Regions from separate parts of the Homo sapiens genome. Here region 1 is linked to region 2. The links are contacts of gene promoters, found by promoter capture Hi-C in human tissues and cell types (Jung and others, 2019). All regions are on one chromosome and are shown on one strand. The core of a region is centred on a gene start or on the middle of the fragment in contact, and the rest is flanking DNA. Distances in the headings are between cores, read along the strand shown. Region 1 overlaps AGPAT3 (1-acylglycerol-3-phosphate O-acyltransferase 3). Region 2 holds the start of PWP2 (PWP2 small subunit processome component).

Evidence for each region. Contacts are between HindIII fragments. The study calls those that stand out against the background at their distance.
Region 1: a contact is called between a fragment that was not itself captured here and the fragment with the promoter of PWP2 in region 2, in 3 of the 25 tissues and cell types used here (lymphoblastoid cells, mesendoderm cells and thymus).

The regions. Positions count from the first base shown.
Region 1 is chr21:43,980,426-43,983,125 of GRCh38, reverse strand. AGPAT3 (1-acylglycerol-3-phosphate O-acyltransferase 3) reads right to left here. Exons shown (of 10, transcript NM_020132.5): 9 at 1,939-2,137; 10 at 1-822. The coding sequence ends at 734. Among named protein-coding and RNA genes, the nearest start is that of TRAPPC10, 31 kb to the left of the region's middle. RefSeq lists enhancers at 1-396, 397-1,158, 1,159-1,920. The HindIII fragment of the contact is 5,682 bases long and covers 1-2,700 here.
Region 2 is chr21:44,106,036-44,108,735 of GRCh38, reverse strand. PWP2 (PWP2 small subunit processome component) reads right to left here and starts at 1,337. Exons shown (of 21, transcript NM_005049.3): 1 at 1,302-1,337. The coding sequence starts at 1,319. It overlaps TRAPPC10 (trafficking protein particle complex subunit 10), which reads right to left. Exons shown (of 23, transcript NM_003274.5): 23 at 2,184-2,700. RefSeq lists silencers at 1,301-1,684, 1,275-1,791. The HindIII fragment of the contact is 7,831 bases long and covers 1-2,700 here.

The sequences.
Region 1 (2,700 bases), core at 127-2,626, 130 kb after region 2:
GAGAACTCTGCATTTCACTGAGTTCTCAGGGGCCCATCCACTTTAAAAACAGATGTACGTATTTACACACAAGGTCAGATAGGAGCTAGGACAGACAGGGCTCTAGAAAGTGAGGTGGGGCGTTCGCCCTCAGCCAGCCCCAGGACAGGGCAGAGTGAGGGCTCCGACTTCGAGGAATGGACCTGACGTTCGTGCCGGTGTGCTTATCACTACGGGCGCCCTCCACGGGGCCCCCACTGGGAGCCAAGGTGCTGAGCCGAGCGATGCTCCCGGGGGACGGGACCCGGCCGTCCACTCCCAGGAGGACAGCAGAAATTCATTACGAGACAGTTTCGGGGGCGGGGGGTGCAGAAGAGGTGAGGGGCCAGGTTAAGTTCCCAAGATAACTGATTAAAAACCAAAAAATTTGATCTAAGTTTAAGGAGAGAAAGCAGCCAAAGGCTCCCTCTTGGAAGCGGAGTTCTGGAGAGACGGCGTCCGCGGGAGGCCTCTCCGGCCGGACCCACCTCCCACGGGCGCGCGTGGAGATGCTGGGACCCTGCGCTGTGGGAGGCTGAAGACTTCACCTGACAGGCCTTCTGAATTCTTTACTCTTGGCTCAAGTTTTGTTAATATTAGTCACCAGTTAATAAGAAAAATAGTTTCTAATTGTCTTTTCCTGCACTCTGTGTGTTGGTTTTGAGTTAACTGGATACCACCGTCAGGGCCGCGTGTGTTCAGTCACAGCCATTAATTATTCCTTTTTCTTAAACTCTTGGTTTCCGTAGCTGGAGCCTTTTTCTATCTCAGTTACTCCTATCAGTCTGCGAACTCCAAAGGAAGCTTTCAAGACAGGAGAGAGAGAGAAGAGGTGAGACGGATGACTTTGCCTTTTTGCTGTAAAACGTGTTACTGGGGCTTCCTTCCTCTGCCCCAGACCCTGTCCCTCTGCCCCGCACCCAGTGGCCTCTGCTGTCAGTGAGTAGGTGTGGCCCGCGGGGAGACAGCCCTCTCAGACCGTGGTCTGCTCAGGCAGGGGTGAGGGGCACGTCTTCTGACCGGCTGGGTCCGAGGCAGGTGGACACGTGGACCTTGCCCTGCCTGCCCCTCTGGGTCTTTGGCTGGTGGGAGCAGAAGGGCTTCGGGGCATTCTAACAGCTCGGCCTTGCAAACCCAACAGGTGACAGAGGTGGACGAGCAGGACCCTCGGATGTAAGCAGGTCACATCCTGTCCTCTGTGGGTGGCCTCAAGTCATCTCGTAGTCCAATGGGAGAGGCTGGTGGCAGTCACTGCCTCTCAGGACCCCTCCCACCAAGGCCCCTGGCAGGGGCGGCAGGAGCAGGGGAGGAGCTGGCCCAGCTGCTGGGCCTGGGGAGTCGGCTCACGGGGCGATGCACACGGACTGTGTCTCCACGGACAGAGACCCCTCAATTACGGGGTGTGGGTGGGCGCCGGAGCTCACCACAGGGACAGGCTGGGTGTCTGTTCGGCCCCAGGCTAGCTGATGAGTCGTGGTGGGCCTGGCATTGTGCCTGGGGTGGGCACACAGTGGGGAAGTCACTGGGGGTCAATGGGGAGGAGCTGAATGATGATGTCCTGCTTAAACCTCCCGAATGGCCAGCCCAGCCTGACCCCTAAGAGCCCAAAAGCAGACAGGGGGGCTGGGGACCCTCTCGGGGACCCTCTCGTCGGCATCCTCAAGGGCGCCAGCCAGTGGGGCTGCAGTGGGGATGGCGCCAGGTGGCGGCCGTTCGGCTCTCTGGGGAGGCGACCCTCAGCTCAGTGCAAGAATCCAGGCTCTGAGGCCCGCAGGCCGTGGGGGGATCCTGGCTCCAGGGTCCATAACAGCCAGGCCCCTGCCTCCCACAGCCACTGTGATGAGTCACCAGGTCCCGGACCCTGTGGCTGATACTGTGAGGCCCGTCAGAGTGTGAGCTGTTAGCGACAGTGTCCATTACCTGCTCCCACAAACCCCAAGAAAGTCAGGATCAGGAGAGGTGATCCGCTGGCAAAGACGCCCAAGACAAAACTGAAGAGGGGAGACAGGAGAATGGTGGCCCAGGACAGGAAGTTCAGGAGGGTCCACGGCCTCCGGGCAGGCTTAAACTGCTCCCCTGGAAACATGCCCTTCTGATTATATATCTCCTGGAGCGCGTCCTAGAAGAGTCAACAGAGAAAAAGGAAGCGTGAGGCTTCTTTACAAGCTATTATTTCAATGCAGGAGAAGATTGTTGGCAATGAAAAACGACTCAACCTAAAAAAAGCGCCACGTCAATTAAGAGCACAAATCACAGAAGCTGCAGGTGCAGGCGAAGCTGGCTGTACGTTTTTGGAGAATCTGATAGCGTGCATCGAGAGCTCGCAAGCATATCAACCCTTTGACTGAGGAAGTCTCCCAGGAAAATAATCGGTCAAGAAAGCAACGTTGTGAATACCAACACCTGCCTGCCCAGCACTGCCCCGGCCACCCGCCACATCCCACACCTCCCACGAGCCAGAGGCAGTGGGGGTGGCAGGTGTGGCCTGTGTGAGTCCCGCGGCCTGGATGCAAATCCCTGCAAAGCGCACTCTCAGCTGCACGGCCCAAGGAAAGTTCCTTAACCTCGCATACCTCGGTTTCCTAGCCTGGCAAAGGAGGCTAATGAGGAGCTGGGAGGAGAGAGGAGCCTGGCCAGGGCCACCTGCAGAAGGTTCTGCCTCTGGTGGGAATGTCAAAGGCA
Region 2 (2,700 bases), core at 88-2,587:
GGCGTCTGCCAGGTGAAGAGGGGCATGGAGCCCACACTTCACCAAGAAAAAAGCTGCAACAATGGAACAGCACCCCAAAAGTGCTTAGAACTCAGGGCTTCCAGAAGTGTGGTAAGCCAGCATCCTATTTACTAACTCACGAGCACGAGCGTTCACTGGAGACTGCCATGCGCACAGACACGCACACCTTATATTCTCTCTCTAGCAGGAGGGGGATGAGAAGTGTGGGAGCAGGGGCTACTTTAGACGGTGGTCACGGAGAGGCACCTGGAAGGGTCACCTGAGCTGGAATCTAAATGGGAAGGCACCAGCCAGGCCCTGAAGCTGTGAGTGGGCAGCGCCCTCAGGACCTCAGGGAGGAGCTTGGTCAGCAGAAGGACTTTAAGCGGCCAGGCAGGCTCCAAGGCACATTTTTTGCCACCTTGCAGTAGGAATGTGGAGCGGATGAAGTCCTGGCCTGTGAGGACGTGGATATGGTTTCTGGTTTGGTGCTGGGCACACAGCGGTGGCTCCACCAGCACAGGGGACACAGGAGCAGCACTCTGAGGGGCCAGTACCATGCCCAGTTTCGGACAGGACAAGTGTAGTACACGGTGGGCTCAGCAGCAGGCGGCCCGTGCAACCCTGGAAGCGCAACGGTCAGGGCCACTGTGGGAAACACAGGCGTCCCCATAACCGGCCAGCTGTAGCAAACGCTTCAGAGACCCCCAGGCCGGCTCCACGGCCCCCTCTTATTACCTGTCTCACCCGCCTCCTGCACTTCACATCTGGGACAAGTCTTCCCTGGCTCTCAAAGCTGAGGGCGTCCGCCTCAGGAATTCCCTCCGGCCTCGGGAAACAGAGCTCACACCTGGGTTCCCCGCCCTTCCGCTCACCTGGACGCTCGCTCGTTAGGGACCAGTCCCGGGCCCCGGGTCCCTGCTGTTCTCACCCCGCCTGCGCGCGCCCGCGTCCCCGCCCCGTCCCACCTCCTCATCCCTCCCGAGGGTGCTGTGCCCTCCCCGACTGCACCAACTCCAGCCTTTAGGTTGGGCCATACTCAGGTTAAAAATATCCCGGGACCCCGACAAATGTCCCTGTTCCCTCCGAGAAGCCGTCGGCGCCTCCGTCCCAGCTCTCCCAGGAGCCCCACCACAGCCCCGCGTCCCCGAGGCCACGGGCGCGCAGACAGCCGGCGACCCCCACGCGGCCAGACGCCGCAAAAGCAGACCACGCGCCCCCAGCCCGCCCGGAGCCAGCTCAGGCGCCGTCCACCGGAAGAGCCGCGCCGATCCAACAGACCGCCCGCCGCCCGCGCTCACCCGGTAAGCGAACTTCATCACGGCCGTCGCACGTGTGCCGCAGCTCAACCCGGCGGCCGCCCACAGAGACACTTCCCGGGGGTCCGCGCGGCACCGCCCACAGCACGCACTTCCGGGAAGCGACGGCGTGCACCGCCCACAGCGCGCGCGCCCGGGACGGGGTCGCGCACCACCGTCCGCAGCGGCCCAGGAGGCAGGAGGAGCTGCGTCGCCCTCGCCCCGCCCCGAGGCGGAGTTTGAACGCGAGGCCCAACCCCTCCCAAGGCGGGGGCCTTCTCCGGGCCCCGCCCACACCCCGGAGCCACACTGCAGGGCGCCTCTTAGGCGCGCTCCAGCGCTGGGCGCGCTCCGCACGGACGCCCAGCCTGGCACAGCAGCGTCCACAACATGAGAGCGCTGCACACCCAAATGTCTTCGTTCTTGTGAACTGTTGGGTAAGGAATTATGAATAAAGTCCCGAATGCTGGCCGGTGCGGTGGCTCACGCCTGGGAGACTGAGGCGGGTGGATGACCTGAGGTCAGCAGTTCGAGACTAGCCTGGCCAACATGGTGAAACATCATCTCTACTAAAGTATAAAAATGAGGCGCATGCCTGTAGTCCCAGCTACTCGGGAGGCTGAGGCAGGAGAATGGCTTGAACCTGGGAGGCGGAGGCTGCAGTGAGCCCAGATCGCGCCATTGCACTCCAGCCTAGGCAACAGAGCATGACTGTCTCAGAGAAAAAAAAAAAAAAAAAAAAAAAAATAATCCGAATGTTTCCCAAAAGGCAAATAATCTATGCCCAAGAGTCAGGAACAAGGACTAGGGAGATAAAACAATAAAATCTTCACATTACATACTGTTGTCACACCATGTCGCAGCAAAAGATCCAGTGCAAAATAGTTTCTTCTTAAAATGTGTATTTTCAGAATTACAATGCTTACATTTTAAAGTCTTAATACAATGGTTTTAATCTAACAATATATTACATAATATGAAAAATGACTTTTCATAGTAAACCATGAAAATGGAATACCTGCAGTGTCAAAGTCACCAACTTGTCACCTTTTCCAGTCACAGAATCCCAACACATTGTATTAATGATGACTGGGGGGGGTCTTACAGCCTGATGTATATAGGATGAATAAATGTAGAGAAAGGAGCATTTTCATGAAAAATAAAATTTAAAAACCAGGTAGGATTTATTTTAAAGAACACAGTTGAAAGTAAAACATTTACATCAGCCCAGTTTGCCCTTTTGTAAAAAGTAGTATAGCTTTTCATTTTATATACAAACCTGCAGTGTCTGATTTCATTTTAAAACTTAATTTTAAGCACTAAAGAAAATTTGAATAGAAGCCTGTGTGTATTTTCTCTGCTAATTCTGTATGGGATATCTGGCATCTCCACTAAGAGTAAT